3 separate regions of the Homo sapiens genome follow, and all the other regions are linked to region 3. Evidence: promoter capture Hi-C in human tissues and cell types (Jung and others, 2019). All regions are on one chromosome and are shown on one strand. The core of a region is centred on a gene start or on the middle of the fragment in contact, and the rest is flanking DNA. Distances in the headings are between cores, read along the strand shown.

Evidence for each region. Contacts are between HindIII fragments. The study calls those that stand out against the background at their distance.
Region 1: a fragment that was not itself captured here is called in contact with the fragment with the promoter of BICC1 in region 3 in 2 of the 25 tissues and cell types used here (IMR-90 fibroblasts and dorsolateral prefrontal cortex).
Region 2: a fragment that was not itself captured here is called in contact with the fragment with the promoter of BICC1 in region 3 in 2 of the 25 tissues and cell types used here (dorsolateral prefrontal cortex and hippocampus).

Annotation. Positions count from the first base shown.
Region 1 is chr10:58,688,710-58,691,409 of GRCh38, reverse strand. The region is part of intron 2 of BICC1 (BicC family RNA binding protein 1); the gene reads right to left. Among named protein-coding and RNA genes, the nearest start is that of BICC1, 180 kb to the right of the region's middle. The HindIII fragment of the contact is 7,285 bases long and covers 1-2,700 here.
Region 2 is chr10:58,728,255-58,731,138 of GRCh38, reverse strand. The region is part of intron 3 of BICC1 (BicC family RNA binding protein 1); the gene reads right to left. Among named protein-coding and RNA genes, the nearest start is that of BICC1, 220 kb to the right of the region's middle. The HindIII fragment of the contact is 3,764 bases long and covers 1-2,884 here.
Region 3 is chr10:58,511,576-58,514,523 of GRCh38, reverse strand. It overlaps BICC1 (BicC family RNA binding protein 1), which reads right to left and starts at 1,652. Exons shown (of 21, transcript NM_001080512.3): 1 at 1,191-1,652. The coding sequence starts at 1,380. LOC124902427 (a long non-coding RNA gene) reads left to right here and starts at 2,472. Exons shown (of 2, transcript XR_007062147.1): 1 at 2,472-2,864. The HindIII fragment of the contact is 7,114 bases long and covers 1-2,948 here.

The DNA.
Region 1 (2,700 bases), core at 121-2,620, 180 kb before region 3:
CTAAAAGCTACTTCATTCTCCAAGGAATAATTTCTTCAGAAATATTAGCCAGATCTTCTATCAGATCTCATGGGTAACTACAAAGAGATTTATTAAACTTGAACTATCAAGGTACAACTTGTATATAACTTGAATACAACAGTGTATAATTTGGACAACACAAATAATTCCTAGAGATCTACTGTAAAGCACACTGCCTGGAGATAACAACACTGTACTGTATACTTAATTTGCTAAGAGGGTAGATATTATATGAAGTGTTTTTCTCAGGAAAAAAACAATAATAAAGAGGACAGGAGGAAACTTTCAGAGAGGGTGGATAGCTTGTGGTGATGGTCTCTTGGATATATACTTATTTCCAAACTCATCAAGTTGTATACATTAAATATGTACACCTTCTTATGTCGATTATCCTCAATAAAGTCTTTTTAAAAAATGAAACTAAACAAACTTGGGGGAGGAACGGAAATAGTACTGATTTAACAAAATATCAAGCTACCAAACCTTGAATGCAATTTTCTAGTCTCCAATTTTTCATAAGACTAGTTACTCCAGTTACTGTAGATTCACACATGCTTTTTTAGGGAATACATTTTACTACTCAACTCAGTTCATCTCTTAAAGCAAATGACCCTACTTAGCTTAGTAGGTCCTGATGGCATCTATGCTGATGAGTAATAACAGATCAGCACAATAACTGAGATCTATAATGGCAACACTGAGATATCAAAAAGAGAGAAACTTTTATGTAGGCTCTACTGGGTGAGCAGGCAAGGAGGTAAGGATTAGGTTTGAGAAAGGTGCTTCCAGACAAAGAGTAAATATTGAAAGGAGGTATGTATTCATTGTGCTCCTGTAACAATTCCAAATGCCAGTGGATGAACAGAACAAAAGTTCATTTCTCCCCCATGTTAAATGGCCTACAAGGGTCAACAAGAGGCTCAGCTCCACACAGGCTTCACACAGTCACTCAGCGACTCAAACTAACAGAGATCCTTCCATTTTATAGCTGCCCATCTGGAATCCATGGTCCCTTCAGTCTCCTCATGGGAGAAAAACAGGAAGAATTCTGCATGGATCTTTTACTGCCATGGCCTGTAAGAAAAATGTATCTCTTTCACAGCCCATTGTCCATCATGAGACACATGCCCACGCAACTGAAAGGTGGCTGGGAAATGCGGAAAGCAATTAGAATATTTGGTGGGCACGACTGCCTCTGCCAGAAAAGTTTAGGGGTGTGGGGAGGGATTAAGGAAGGGGGTGTGTGTATGTATGTATTTTATTCATATTCCACTGTATGATAGCCCAGAGTTTACTTAACTCTCATCTTTTAATGCTGTATATATTCCTTAAAGAAGAGACAAAAGTAAACAATATGTTTATGGTGAAACACTACATAAAAAGGTCAGAATAATTTTGATTACTTCTTATCCCATACAGGTCCTTTCCCTGAATTATATCAAATTTGTAATGCATCAAGTTGAAATACTGGTAAAAAACACCTAATGAGCTCTAAAACTGAAAAGTGTCATATGCTTCAGCCACCCAAACCTTACCCATCTGACCAATTTCGGCAAAGTCAAATCAAATGGTAAAAGGGAGAATTAGCTGGTAAATGAGGAAAGTGTCAGTACTCAGCTTACACCACCGTGGACTGTTCCACTAACTTCTGTCCTCAGCACCTTGGGAATCAGTGGACTGAATGTTTGCTCCGCTTTGCTTGTACAAAACTGGCCAGGTCTGTACTACTACAAACTTTCAGAGTAACACATTCACAGAAAGAGTCTGAAAACACTGAAGAATTCAAGAACACTGTCTCTTGCTTTTTTCCTTTAAAACACATATTGCTCCTTTCAGAATCCAGACTCATAAATGTAACCTCTGAAGCAAGTTGCAACCTTGTTATGCCACCAGCTCCTTGACATGTTTAAACTGCACTCAATCTTCTGTGCACAAGTGAACATTTAAGCTGTCTACCCAGAATCCTGGAATCAACCTGATTATCTAAAAGGGATGCCACTCCCATTCCCATAGGTTGGTTTACCAATAGGCACGTGATCCAATCTGGGCCACAGACAAGGGAGAAGAGGTCTCATGGAAGCTTTTGAGAATGAAGCTTTCTGGCTTTGTAAGAGAATTACTAAGTTCTCTCTTTCTCTTACCACATGTGAACAAAGGCACAGGTAGCCCTGATGCCACAGGCTCCACCCATGAGCCATAAGGAGTACCAACCATCAGTGTGAAAGACAGAGTCAGAAAACACCTGGATCCTGGATCCTAGATCCTAGATGATATCGCAGAAAGGTTCTTGATCATTAGCACCAAAAACCTTTCTTTCTTTCTTAATACATGTTTTCTTGTTTTTTGTTGTTGTTGTTGTTATTATACTTTAAGTTCTGGGATACATGTGCAGAATGTGCAGGTTTGTTACACAGGTATACATGTGCCATGGTAGTTTGCTGCACCCATCAACCCGACATCTACATTAGGTATTTCTCCTAATGCTATCCCTCCCCTAGCCCCCCACTCCCCAACAGGCCCCAGTGTGTGATGTTCTCCTCCCTGTGCCCATATGTTCTCATTGTTCAGCTCCCACTTATGAGTGAGAATGTGTGGTGGTTGGTTTTATGTTCCTGTGTAGTTTCCTGGGAATGATGGTTTCCAGCTTCATCCACGTCCCTGCAAAGGACATGAACTCAT
Region 2 (2,884 bases), core at 365-2,864, 220 kb before region 3:
TCTGGTAAAAAAAGTTTCTAAGCAGCAAAACATTCAAGTATATAGCCTGACTGCTTCTAATAACATATGCTCATATGCATGAGCAAAGATGTTATCTGAAACTGGTACTCTTATTTAAAAGGGAAGCACAACATAAAAGTTTGGAAAAATTTGCAGCCTGCTTCTGTGTTAGAAAAGAAAAGCCCATTTTCAAAGGAGGAATTCAAGCAGGCTGCAGGAATTTGCATAATCTCCCATCATAGGCAGGGAGGCCTAGGGGGGCTGAATGGTTTCCTGGGCCAGGCCAAGGGCCCTGCAACCCCGCACAGCCTTAGAACACTGCTCCCAGTATCCCTGTTGCCCCAGCTGCAGCCCTGACTCAAAAGAGCAAAGGTACCACTCAGGACTCTGCTTCAGAAGGTGCAGGCTAGAAGCATTGGTGGTTTCTACACTGTGTTAAGATCACAGGGACACAGAAAGAAAGACTGAGGCTTGGGAGCCTCTGCCTAGATTTTAGAGGATATATGAAAAAGCCTAGATGTCCAAGCAGAAGCCTGCTACAGGGGCAGAGCCCTCACTGAGAACCTCTAATAGGGTAGTGTGGAGGAGAAATGTGGGGTTGGGGCTCCCACACAGAGTCCCAACTGGGGCACTGCCTAGTGGAGCTGTGAGTAGAAGGCCACTGTCCTCCAAACCTTGGAAGGGTAAACCACTGGCAACTTGCACCCTGCACTGGAAAAGCCACAGGCACTCAATGCCAGCCCATGACAGTAGCCACAGGGGCTAAACCCCACAAGGCCACAGGAGTAGAGCTCCCCAAGACCTTGGGAGCTCACCTCTCATGCCAGTGTGCCCTGGATGTGGGACATGAAGTCAAAGGAGATTATTTTGTTTGGAGCTTTAAGATTTAATGACTGTCCTGCTGGGTTTCTGACTTGCATAGTGCCTGTAACCCCCTTTTTTGCTGTTTTCTACCTTTTGGAACTGGAGTATTTTACCTAATGCCTATACCTTCATTGTATCTTGGAAGTAACTAACTTGTTTTTGATTTTACAGGCTCATGGGCAGAAGGGACTTGCCTTGTCTCAAATGAGACCTGAGACTTTGGACATCTTAGTTAATGCTGAATGAGTTAAGACTTGGGGGACTGTTGGGAAGGCATGATTGTATTTTGCAATGTGAGAAGGATATGAGATCTGTGGGGTCAGGGGAGAAAGATATGGTTTAAATCTGTGTCCTCACAAAACCTCATGTTGAATTGTAATCTCCAATGTTGGAGGTGGGGCCTGGTGGGAGGCAACTGGACCATTGGGTGGATTCTTCATGGATGATTTAACAGCGTCCCCCTTGGTACTGTCGTCACAATAGTGAGTGAATTCTTGCGAGATGTGGTTGTTTAAAAGTGTGTAGCACCTCTGCCTCTTTCACTCTCTTCATCCTGCTTCTGTCATGTAAGATGGCTGCTACCACTTGGCCTTCACCATGAGTAAAAGCTCCCTGAGGCCTCCCCAGAAGGAGATGCCACCATACCTTCTGTAAAACCTGTGGAATCATGAGCCAATTAAACCTCTTTTCTTTATAAATTACCCAGTCTCAGGTATTTCTTTAAAGCTGTGTGGGAACAAACACAAGCCTTATTGCTGATATGAAGAAAGTTTTAGTGATCTGAATAGAAAATGTAAGAAGCCACAACAAAGCCTAATCCAGAGCAAAGCCCTAACTCTCTTCAATTTTCTAAAGGCTGAGAGAGGTAAGGAAGCTAAAGAAGAAAAGTTGGAGGCTAAGACTGACAGGTTCATAAAGTTTAAGAAAAGATGCCATCTCCATAATTTTAAAATGCAAGGTGAAGCAGCAAGTGCTGATGTAGAAGCTGTAGCAAGTTATCCAGAAGATCTAGCTATGAAAATTGATGAAGGTGACTACACTGAACAACAAATTTTCAACGTAGACAAAACAGCCTTCTGTTGGAAAAAAAGGTGTCATCTAGAACTTTCCTAGCTAGAAAGGAGAAGTCAGTGTCTGCCTTCAAAGCTTTCAAAGACAGACTGATGCTCTTGACAGGGGATAATGCAGCTGGTGACTACAAGTCGAAGCCAATGATCATTTACCATTCCCAAAATCCCAGAATCCTCAAGAATTATGCTAAATCTACTCTGCCTGTTCTCTATAAATGTAACAAAGTCTGGATGACAGCACATGTGTTTGCAGTATGATTTGCTGAATATTTTAAGCCCACTGTTGAGACTTACTGCTCAGAAAAAAAAGATTCCTTTTTTTAATATTAAAATAAAAAACAAAATATTACTGCTCATTGACAATGCACCTGGTCACAAAAGAGGTCTGATGAAGATGTACAAAAAGATTAATGTTTTTACGCCTGCTAACACAATATTCCTTCTGTACCCCATGGATAGAGGAGTAATTATGACTTTCAAGTATTATTATTATTATTATTTAAGAAATACATTTTGTAAGACTATAGCTGACACAGTTATTCCTCTGATGGATTGCGGCAAAGTAAATTGAAAACCTCTGGAAAGGATGTATTATTCTATGTATCATTCATGATTCATAGGAGGAGGTCAAAATAGCAATTATAACGGGAGTTTGGAAGAAGTTGATTTCAACTCTCATGGATGACTTTGAGGGGGTTCAAGACTTCAGTAAAGAGAGTAGCTGCAGTGGTGGTGAAAACAGCAAGAGAACTGTAATTAGAAGTTAAGCCTAAAGATATAAATGAATTTCTGCAATCTCAGGATAAAACTTGAGTGGATGAGACATTGCTTCTAATGGATAAGCAAAGAACATGGGTTCTTTGTCTTCTGATGAAGATGCTACAAAGATTGTTGAAATGAAAACCAAAAATGTATAATACTATATAAACTTAGTTGATAAAGCAGTGGCA
Region 3 (2,948 bases), core at 403-2,902:
GTTGTTCTCTCTTAAAATAACCTGCTTAATTGTTCTAAAAAGCCACTGCATTTCCACAGAGGGCTAAATCATTCCCATACTGCGATGCATTGACTGATAAAGTCAAAGTAAGTTATGCATAAAGCCACAAATAACGTTTGAAAAACTCCAAACTCCTCCATGATAAAAGAACACTAGCTACTGAATGAATCTTCACCAGCGCCCTAAGTGAGACTAACGCCTGGTCCCGTACACGTATTTTAAGAATAACAGTCATTCAAACTAACTCATTTCTCTCTTTGGATGTGGGAAATGAGCCACATCGGTGGCTACAGGTAGGCTAGTAATTATCTGTTTTAAGAAAGGTCAAAATGACCTTGGACGTTTTGACGTTCACTCCAACACTCGTATTATAAATCAGAATCTGTTTTCGGTCCAGTATGGTTGAAGATTTTCTACCTGGGAAAGTCCCAAAGAAATTAAAGAGTTAAAAATAATTCTAAGTTGTGAAAGACAAAGTCAGACACCCATAGCATAGGAAGATTTTTATGGACTGAATGTAACTCAAGATGTGTTTTATAAGCCTGTCAAGAGATGAACACTGTCCTCAAACACAGCAGCACTGCCTCCACACTCCCCCCTCGCTTTGGCTGCTCACCCCGATCCTGGCCCTCCTTGACCACAGGGGTGGGGGCGGGAGCTCCTGTCTTAAGCCTTGACATCTGCAGAGCGTTTCCCAATAGTGAGACAAGGCCCCTCAGCTGGAGGAAGTGGATACTGACAAGGGGAGAGAGTGAAACAGACGGAGAGAGACAGAACTCGAGGCTGCCAGGGAATGGGGAGGGTCACGCATACTCTGTGCGGCCCGAGTGGTCCGGATGGCACAGCCCAGGTGTCCGGGCTAAAGTTGGCATCTCCAAAGTCCAGAACGCAACTTGGGCGCGCCAGTACAAACTCGGCCTTCGGCTTTTCTGAAGCCAGTCAAGTTCGCACAGGGCCCCCAGCGCCTGGAAATCTGAGAGGCGTGGAAGGGTGGGGAGTCCCGCGAAGTCTCCAGTCCCTGGGTGTCCTCCGGCTCCGCGGGGGAGCGGGCCTGGAGCTAAACCGGCCGGCCGTAGGCTGGAGTAGCGGGCGCCGGAGCGCGCGGTGGGGATGTCCGAAAAGGAGTTAGAGGCTCAGTCGGAGAGTCCGAGAACACGAGGGATGCCTACCTTGTAACATGGCCTCAAGTTTCTTCCTGTCCACGCGGAAGCGCTCCTCGCTCCACTCCGGGCTGTGCAGGGTCGCCCCGGCGACCAAGTCGTCCTCGGAGCCGGGCACTGGGGAGTCGGTGCTGCGCTCGCTGTTGGAGCCGGGGTCCGACTGCGCCGCCAGGTAGCCGGGCTCTCCCTGGGCGGCCATGGTGGGCGCGCAGCGCTCGGGCTCCCGCTGCCGCCGCCGCTCTGCCTGCGCTGCCGCCTCCGCTCGCCGGCCGGGCTCAACTGGCTCCCAGCGCCGCGGCGCTAGCTCGTCCCCCTGCAGCCGCCGACGCCACCGCCAACGCCGCCGCCGCCACTGAGCCCCCGGCGCATCCCAGCCCCGGGCGCCGCCCACGCCACCCGCCACCCCGGGTCGCGGCCCCGGTCCGGGTCCAGTGGCTGCGCCGCCCCCCGCCAGCAACGCCCGCGCGGAATGAGCGCGCCGCGCTGCCCGCGCCTCCATCCGCAGGGCTCGGCGCCCCCTCCCCGCCCGCCGCCCCTACAGCCGCGCGCTCATTGGCCCGGCCAGCCCACGGGGAGCCGCGGCGGGCGGGCGGCCCCTGGCGCTCACACACTCGCGCGCGCACACACACACCACGTACACACTGCCACTTTCTGCACTTACACGTATAAATCCTTTCCATACATGCACTTTCATAGCTCCTCAAACACACACACTCCTGAACGCACATGGAGTATCCACGTAATTCCTGTCTACACACACACATCACACACACTACTACTTTTCTGCACTTACACATACAAATCTCTTCCCCCTACATGCTCTCATAATCCTCCAAACACACAAACACAAACACGCCAAGTTCAAGCACAGCAGAGTCCTGAACGCACACTAAGCGCATACACAATTCCGCTGTTTACATACATACCCTACACCCTGAAACTCACAGCCCCAGTTGGTTCCACAAGCTCGAACGTGAGGAAGAGGAAAAAGAAGGCTTGGAGAAGAAATCATGCCCGTCTTTCGCAGGCATCGCCATGGACGTGGCTCGCATGTAGTTCATACCTCCAGGAAGGGCTCAAACCCAGACACCTCGTCTCCTCCCAGCAAAGTGGCCCGCTGCACGAGAGGTGGACAAGAGGCTTACTCTTTTTATTCTGAGAAAGGGAATTTTTTTTTTTCTTGAATGGAGTAAGGAAGGAATTGTTTTCTCTGTGATTCTCAAGGAATGGACTCAGCAGACTTTTTTTTTTTTTTAAGTAGAAAAGGGGCTCGGAGATCGCTGTGTTGGCGAGCTGGATCCAGCTGGCACGTGGGCAGGGCTGTCTTGTCAGGGACTGAGGGCTTTTCTCTGTTTTCAAGGTCAGTCTCTGACAGATGACGGCCAGTAACCTCTGAGCCTCACTGCCGAGGGCCAGCCCACCCACGGCCTCTGTCAAGCTTGGATATGAAGCGCGGGGGAAGAGGAGACTCGCTCGTACTGGGTGTGCCCTTGGAACTCTGTTTTCCCAGTTCACACAGATTCATAGCCTATTATTTTATGACCCAAAGTACAAAGACTTGCGGGGAGGAATGATGGGGATAGCAGTTTGTCACTGCGCCACAGAAGGAGGCTGCCTGGCTCACATGTAGGAAGAGCCATATCACTGGCACAGGCCTCTGGATAATCATGGAATATGCTGAAGGTAAATCAAAATTATTTCAGGTTCAGCTGCCTAGTTAACAGGAATTGACCCTGTGATGGGTACAGATGAGGAAACTGAGACCGT